Regions from separate parts of the Homo sapiens genome. Here region 2 is linked to region 1. Evidence: promoter capture Hi-C in 16 types of primary human blood cells and fetal thymus (Javierre and others, 2016). All regions are on one chromosome and are shown on one strand. Each heading gives the region's core, a stretch centred on a gene start or on the middle of the fragment in contact. The rest is flanking DNA. Distances are from core to core; before and after follow the strand shown. Region 1 holds the start of CCDC142 (coiled-coil domain containing 142). Region 2 overlaps SLC4A5 (solute carrier family 4 member 5).

The links. The method cuts DNA at HindIII sites, captures the fragments that hold promoters and counts their contacts. A CHiCAGO score of 5 or more calls a contact.
Region 2: a fragment that was not itself captured here is called in contact with the fragment with the promoter of CCDC142 in region 1 in 5 of 17 cell types (total CD8 T cells, naive CD4 T cells, total CD4 T cells and 2 more); the score reaches 5.4 in total CD8 T cells.

What each region holds. Positions count from the first base shown.
Region 1 is chr2:74,481,366-74,485,459 of GRCh38, forward strand. It overlaps CCDC142 (coiled-coil domain containing 142), which reads right to left and starts at 1,633. Exons shown (of 9, transcript NM_001365575.2): 1 at 452-1,633; 2 at 87-173; 3 at 1-7. The coding sequence starts at 1,472. TTC31 (tetratricopeptide repeat domain 31) reads left to right here and starts at 1,716. Exons shown (of 13, transcript NM_022492.6): 1 at 1,716-1,770; 2 at 1,957-2,045. The coding sequence starts at 1,731. RefSeq lists enhancers at 776-875, 946-1,065, 1,176-1,715, 2,036-2,145. The HindIII fragment of the contact is 7,623 bases long and covers 1-4,094 here.
Region 2 is chr2:74,244,811-74,248,763 of GRCh38, forward strand. SLC4A5 (solute carrier family 4 member 5) reads right to left here. Exons shown (of 31, transcript NM_133478.3): 18 at 3,543-3,676; 19 at 2,226-2,497. Among named protein-coding and RNA genes, the nearest start is that of MTHFD2, 48 kb to the left of the region's middle. The HindIII fragment of the contact is 6,305 bases long and covers 1-3,953 here.

The sequences.
Region 1 (4,094 bases), core at 383-2,882:
CAGAAACCTGAGGATGAGAGAGTATAGTGTGGTGGGGAAGCGGTAACCTGGGACTTATGTCACCCCCAGTGCCCCTTCCTTCTCACCTTGGTCCCAGCTCCAGATAAGCGACTGATGAAGTAGTCTGTGACACAAAGATGCCAGCTCCTTCTCACACTCCTGAGGCAGGGATGCTAGTGGGAGAAATGACTCTGGGGCCTGAAAACAAGGTCTCACTTTCCACAACCCCTGCCCACTCAATGATGAGGCAAGAAGGCATGCTTCCTCCAAGACTCGGGACTGGGGTGGAAAGCAAGACTTTGCCTTGAAAGCTCAGAAGCTATAGTCTGAACCCAGGGGTGTTCTTTCTAAAGGGCCTGCTTTTGCCTTCAGGATGGCAGGTCAGTGAGTTGGCCAAGGGGAAGGAAGAGACCCCAGCCTTCCCAAACGCCCACCCAAGCCCATCACTCACCCTGACCCAGTGCCTGACTCAGCTGTTGCGCTGTTGCCCTGGGGTCCCTCCAGGGTCCCAGATTTAGGTCCAGACTCTGAGCACAGGCTGCCCACAGCAGGGTCCAGTATTGGCTCCACAAGGCCCCAGCCCCTCCGAGCCCTAGTCCACAGCTGGCTGAACCCGCCACGCCCCCGACCAGGCCCAGCAGCCCTGGTAGCAGATCCCCCTCCTCTTGGCACCGCCTGCGGAGCTGGTCCCTCAACGCCGATCCTTGGAGCGCCTCGTCCAGCCGACTTGCCACCTGGCAACCCCGCTCCCCCGTCAAGAGGCGGAGCACACGGGACGTGGGGAAAGGACGTGCGGCCCCTGGGACGTGGCTCAAGGCTTTTCTCTGTAGTGTGTGGTAGGCGGGAAGTGCAAAGAGCAGCTCGGCGAGTTGGGACGACAGGCCCGGGCTGGCGGGCTCCCGGCCGAGAGCGCGAAGCTGCATCTCGATGACAGCCTCCAGGCACTGGGCGGCTAGTCCGATGGGGCGCGCTAGCAGCAGCGGCTCGAGAGTCTCCCCAGGGCCGATTCGCAGAACCGCCCCTTGGGAAGGGTGCAGCTGCAGGTCGCGGCACCACTGGGGCAAGGGGCTAGGGCCGCCGGATGGCGAGCCAGGACTCAGGGTCTTCATGAGTCGCACAGCCGACTGTAGGTGGTAGGCGCAGTCTCGGGCCTGGAGGAGCTGCTCCCGCTCGCGATGCAGCCGCAGCAACACCGCCCGGAGACGCTGCAGCGCGGGAGGGATCGGGCCGCCACCTGCGGGCCCCCGCCTCCAGGCCGCAGCATCAGCCTCGTAGTCCTCGCTCACATCCGCCGGCGTCGGCCACCACGGCGTCCCTCCAGAAGTTCCGCTCGGCCAGCAGTGAACCTCCCAGCGAAGACCGCCCGTTCGACTTCTCTCCCACTGCTCCTCCCCAGTGCCCCCGGGTTGCGCCCTCAGCGGGGGCACGATAACGAGTGGAGGCAGGCTACCTGAGCGAGACGCCTGGGCCATGGGGCGGCGGGTCCAGAACGAACCTAACGATTCCCACTTCCCTGCACGGACCAACGCCCGCCGCAGCTCGGACTTCGCCCCATCGCAAGAGCCGTTTTCTCCAGTCCGGGAGTCGCGGGGACCTTCATGGACTCTCTCGTGCTCCGTAATGGGAGGCTTCTGCCCCTAACAAACATGGCCGCCCACTCTGTCCCACCCCGCCCTTTGGCTGGTATCAAATACTAGACTACCTTTCATTTCCGGGTCACTGTAGATGCGATGGCGCCGATTCCAAAGACTGTGGGGCGGATCAAGCTAGGTGAGCGGTATGACAAGACCAGTGGGGGTCTAGGAGGGCAGAGGCAGCCCCTCTTGGGTCCACCTGTGGTCTGAACGTTTCGAGTAGGATTTTATGCAGAGGGCGGAGAGTCGAGGGTAGAGTGGGGAGGACTCTAGCCCATCTGTCCCGAGCCCGCTGACGAGGCTCCGCCTTCCTTTCCTGTAGACTGCTCTCTACGGCCCAGCTGCCCACTGGAGGTCGCTGCTGCACCCAAACTTTGCAAGGAATTCGGTCCAGAGGATTACGGCGAAGAGGTAAAAGCGACCCTCAGTTTCCCCCAGTCCTGCTCATTTTGGTCACGCCTCTTTGAAGTCAGCTGTGCAGAAACCCGCGACGGATGGGCGCCAGACGGGGCTCTGGAGGCTTTGGGGAGTTGTAGTCTCCGGCCATGCCCTTGAGGATCTTAGGCAAGTGAGGGGCAGGGGATCAGGAGGATGATCCTGATGTAACAGATGCTCGAAGTGGGTAGAATTGAGCAGACAAGGGTCTCTGAGTTGAGGATTAGGGAGTGGGTACGAGTTCCTTGGGAAAAGATGGAGGCCGGGCGCGGTGGCTTGTGCCTGTAATCTCAACACTTTGGGAGGCTGAGACGGGAGGATTGCTTGAGCCCAGGAGTTAGAGACCAGCCTGGGCAACATAGTGAGACCCCATCTCTACAAAAATGTTTTTAAAAAATTTAGCCCGCGTGGTGGGTGGGGGATCTCTTGAGCGCGGGAGGTCAAGGTTTCAGTGAACCATGATCGTGCCACTGCACTCCAGCCTGGGGAACGGTGAGACTCTGTCTAAAAAAAAAAAAAAGCTGGGCCCAGTGGCTCACACCTGTAATCTCAGCACTTTGGGAGGCCTAGGGGGGCGGATCACTTGAGGTCGGGAGTTCGAGACCAGCCTGGCCAACATGGTGAAACGCCATCTCTACCAAAAATACGAAAAACTAGCTGGGCGTGGTGGTGTGCGCCTGTAATCCCAGTCACTGGGGTTACTGAGGCAGGAGAATCGCTTGAACCCGGGAGGCAGAGGTTGCAGTGAGCCAAGATCACACCACTGCACTCCAGCCTGGGCAACAGAGGGAGACTCCATTTCAAAAAAAAAATGAAAAAATATCTTTTTATAGATGGAGGGGACAGTGTGAGCAAAGACAGTAAAACAAGGAAAAGTTGAGAGAACTTTACCAAAGTGAGACCAGAGTAGAGAATCTGGTTGGAACAGTAAAAGATGGGGTGGGAGAGAAGGCAGCAGATGGCTTGAAAGGCTTTGACTTAGCACAGGGGTTTGGATGTTCTCAAGTAGGCAACAGAGTTTTTTTGTTTTTTGTTTTTTTTTAAGATGGAGTCTCACTCTGTCGCCCAGGCTGGAGTGCAGTGGTGTGATCTTGGCTCACTGCAACCTCCGCCTCTCTGGTTCAAGCAATTCTTCTGCCTCAGCCTCCTGAGTAGCTGGGACTACAGGCACATGCCACCAGTCCCAGCTAATTTTTGTATTTTTAGTAGAGACTGGGTTTCACCATGTTGGCCAGCATGGTCTCGATCTCTTGACCTCGTGATCCGCCCGCCTTGGCCTCCCAGAGTGCTGGGATTGCAGGTGTGAGCCACCATGCCCGGTAGACAGCAGGGTTTTCGAAGGAGGGACAGGATCAGATTTGGAAGCATTGAGGCGCTATACTCCCTAGAATCTCAAACTCAAACCCAAAAGTTAATTTAATTAACTTTTGTTAAATTAATTTATCATGTTTGTAAATTGGTTGCTTTTCTTCTAATCCCAATTTTGGTTAATAACACAAACTTTCATCTAGTTGTTTAATCTGGAAATCTGATAATCATTTTATATCCCTTTCTTTTACCTCAAACATTTAGTTAGTCACTAAAATTTACTTTTTTTTTTTTTTTTTTTTGAGACAGAGTCTCACACTGTCGCCCAGGCTGGAGTGCAGTGGCGCCATCTCTACTCACTGCAACCTCCTCCTCCCGGATTCAGGCAATTTTCCTGCCACAGCCTACTGAGTAGCTAAGATGGCAGACACCCACCACCACGCCCAGCTAATTTTTGTATTTTTAGTAGAGAGGGGTTTCACCATATTGGCCAGGCTGGTCTCAAACTCCTCACCTTGTGATCTACCCATCTCGGCCTCCCAAAGTGCTGGGGTTACAGGCATGAGCCACCATGCCGGCCACTAAAATCTACTTCTAAATGTCTCTTGACAGAAGCCCCTCATTTCCGTTCCTGGTCTTGCTGCCATTCCCTTATATCAAGACTCCTTGTATCTGGCCTGAACTAAACATTACATCCATAGCCTCATCTTCCCCTGA
Region 2 (3,953 bases), core at 1,063-3,562, 240 kb before region 1:
GATGCTGCTGGTCCAGGGACGACATTTTGAGAACCATGACAATAGCATGACCCCAAAGAATGAGGTGACATCAGGCACCTGGGCAAAGCCAGAGGGGAAGCTATTTGGGAACAGGTGGCTTCATTATGTCCCTCATAATGCACCTTATATGATCCTATGGCCCTTGTTCCTAGAGCACCCCGGGTTTGTTTTTTCCTGTGTATAGATGATTCTCAGAATGGCCAAAGTGGCCAGGCACGGTGGCTCACCCCTGAGTTCCCAGCACTTTGGGAGGCCAGGGCAGGCAGATCACGAGGTCAAGAGATCGAAACCATCCTGGCCAAAATGGTGAAACCCTGTCTGTACTAAAAATACAAAAATTAGCTGGGTGTGGTGGTGCACACTTGTAATCCCAGCTACTTGGGAGGCTGAGGCAGGAGAATCGCTTGAACCCAGGAGGCAGAGGTTGCAGTGAGCCGAGATCGCGCCATTGCACTCCAGCCTGGGCGACAGAGTCAGACTCTGTCTCAAAAAAATAAATAAAATAAAAATAAACAGAATTTGGATTTTTTCTAAAAGAGATCAAGGATGTGTGCTTCTAGAAGCTATGTTTGTGTAAAATTTACGTCAATGCAACACTGAATCTACAGTCTATAAGATACAAGCACGTAGGAGGGCCCTGATGGGGCTTCCCCACAGAGGCAGGATTTGCTCCAGGGCAGAATGAAAAGGGCCTGCCTGCAGGTAGGATCCCCTCTGGGCAAGCAACATGCCTTGGCTCAGAACAAAGGGTAGCATCACCTGTCATTAGATTTTAGTGGAATAACTCAAAATTAATGACAGAAAAAAAGAAAGAAAAAAGTCTGGACTTCTTTACAAAATCAGTGCAGTCACAGAGAGAAGGGGTTATAATCAAAACTGAACTCTCTGAAGGCAGGACATCTTTATCTTCCACAAGGCCTAAAGTAGGGCATACAATAATTGTGCAGCAAATATTTTCGATTGACTTATGATTTTTTTTACCCGTAGTAATGTATTAAGGGGCTGAACCCACTATCCACTTATTTCCTTCAACTCAATCGGGGTATAGATTTGGAAACCCCACAGGAGTCCCAGGAGACCACCAGGGCCCGCATTGAGACCCCTCTTTTACAGCCAGGGAAACTGAGGCTTGGCATGACCTTGGGTGGTCTCTGGACCTCAGTTTGCTCTCTGTGAGTCCAGCCTTGGTGCTTGGAGATGTGTGCATAGACCTCCTGCTCCTGCTCTGCAGCACCCTGGGCACTCTGGGCACATCCCACTGAAAGCTCTTAGGGGCATGATCATGACTATGGAGGAGGCTCAGATGCTATGGGAAGCCCTAATTTACAGATGACAGGTGTTTTGGCCAGAAAGTAACTCCACAGGAGTGGCACTGGGTGTTACCAGGTTGACCCCATCTGTACAGGGATCCTTTTTACAATATCCTTGGCAGATGGACATCCAGAGAGTGTCCAAGTAACTTGCTACCAACCAAGGGGGCCGAGAACTCCCATGGTGGTTAACGCCCACCATTGTAGGTTCTTTCCTAAATTCAGCCAGCATCTGGCTTCCTGGAGCTTCTGCTCCCTGTTCCTCATTCAGCTCTACATCCTGTGGTTTCAGAGGGTGAACACAGCTCCTTTGTGACATGACAGTCCTTCTCTCATAACTCTCATATTCATAAGAGGCTGAATAAGCCCCGGTTCTCCAACTGTTCTCAGATGGCATGGATGACAGAGCCTCCACTCTGGACATGTTTCCATCTGTGTGGATGTCCATCCCTCAGGTGTGGTCTCACCTTACACGGTATGTGGCCACACGGGCAGCTCTGTCTTGGGGAGAGCTCATCGTATCATGACTTGATGGAGCTGGGCGGGACTTCAGGCACCATCAGTTCTATCTCTGGCCTGCAGCAGGAACCCCTGAGTGGCACTCCTGATAGGTGTGGCCTCCACATTACCCCACACTGAGGCAAAGCATGCCTTACTCCTTCCTAGGATATCCCTGTGCCCTCCTGATGACAACCCTGTGACTCTTATTAGAGCTACTGTCCCCTTGGTTTCCTTCCAAACACTGGGTTCAAGACCCTGTATTTGCTCTCTTGGAACTGTAAGCCCTTGGCTGAATGGCCCCTCCCCAGCAGTAGAAGTAGAGAGCTGTGGTGAAGGATCAGGGGGCCGGTGGGGTAGGTGAGGGCCCACGGCATGTCTGGGGTTACCGGTCACCTGTGTCAGGGGCGACACACTCGCACTTGTAGGTAGTGATGAAGTTTGGCTTGAAGTCCATATTGATAGGGTAGTACTTGAAGGCACCGATCATCTTCTTGATGGCATCGTAGATGAAGATGAAGCTGATAAGGGTGGAGAAGCCCTCCTCGGTGAAGCGGGTGATATATTTGATGATAAAGCTGGCATCTGTGGCCACTAGGATAAGGCACTGGACAGCTGAGTGTAGGCCAATCCAGAGGCGGAACTCCATGTAGTCCAGGCCATTGCCTCTGGAAGGCAGAGGGGAGGTGAGGGGCCTCCAGCCCAGGGCTCCTGGCTGTGCTTGACTCCTCAGACTCATCCTTAAGTGGCTTATCTGTCCTCCTGTGGCACTGATGCCCTCCCAGGGACTGTGAAAGACTGGGGACAGGGACAATTCTTGGGCAGAGTTGTCTGATCTTTGAGATTTCATGGGGGTCCAGTGTTCATCTTTATAAGAACTTTTTTTTTTTTTTGAGAAAGAGTCTCTCTCTGTCACCCAGTCTGGACTGCAATGGCGTGATCTTGGCTCACTGCAACCTCTGCCTCCCTGGTTCAAGTGATTCTCCTGCCTCAGCCTCCTAAGTAGCTGGGATTACAGGCACCCGCCGCCACGCCTGGCTGATTTTTGTATTTTTAGTAGAGACGGGGTTTTACCATGTTGGCCAGGCTGGTCTCAAATTCCTGACCTCAGGTGATCCGCCCGCCCCAGCCTCCCAAAGTGCTGGGATTGCAGGTGTGAGCCACCACGCCCGGCCAAAAAAAAATTTTTTTTAAAGATCTTATGGAGGAGGCAGGAAGGTGCCAAGACATCTCAGTGCTCACAGTTGGTAACAGACACCAGAGTGAGTGAAAAACAGGGAATTTTGGAAGAACAGGGTTGGAGCAGCCCTTGGAAATGGTCTGGTCCAAACCCTCATGTTGTAGAGGAGGCAACTGAGCCTGGAGTAGTGATGGGAGCTGCCTGGGTCTGGGTGTAACCTTCTGACCTTCAGCCCAAGACTTCATACACTATACTGCCTATCAAGTCACCATTGCTCACAAACTGAGTGGTGTGAATTTTCTCCTCTTGTCGTGGCTGGTCCCTATGGGCTGTGCCAATATGCACTAAGATGTCTTAAAGGCAGGTAGCTGGCAGGAGTCAGGAGGGGCCACCTGGTAGCCCTTCCCATAGTTAAAGATGGCTTTGGCACCACCGCACCACCACCTACCCTTGGGACCTATTCCCCTGCCCTAGCCCCAGCATACTGCCCCAAATGCGAGAGCAGGCACTGGGGGCCACCAAGGGACACCTACTTGCTGAAGTCGAAGAGGAGCTTCTCAAAGATGAGGATGGGCCCCGTGCTGCTGAGAATGATGAGAGGCTGTCCCGAGAAGAGGCAGAACAAGGAGCCAGCCATGGCAGTGCCCAGGAAGCTCTCCATCACTCCCTGGGGGCACAAGGAATGTGTGGTTCAGCATAGGAAGGAGAAGCGGTCTCTCCACACAGGCTGCAGCCCCAGCGATCTCTCCACGGGCCCAGGCCACAGTGTTTATCCTTCGTTCTGGGCCCTTTCCTCCCTAAATCCTGTTCTCCATCTCCTACACCCTCCACAACTTGCCACCATGGCCATTGTCACTCTGTTTAATTCCATCTAGATAAAGGTACCATGTGACTTCCTTCTGGCACCCAGGGCCTAGAAAACAGTGGATGTGCTTTTCTCTGTG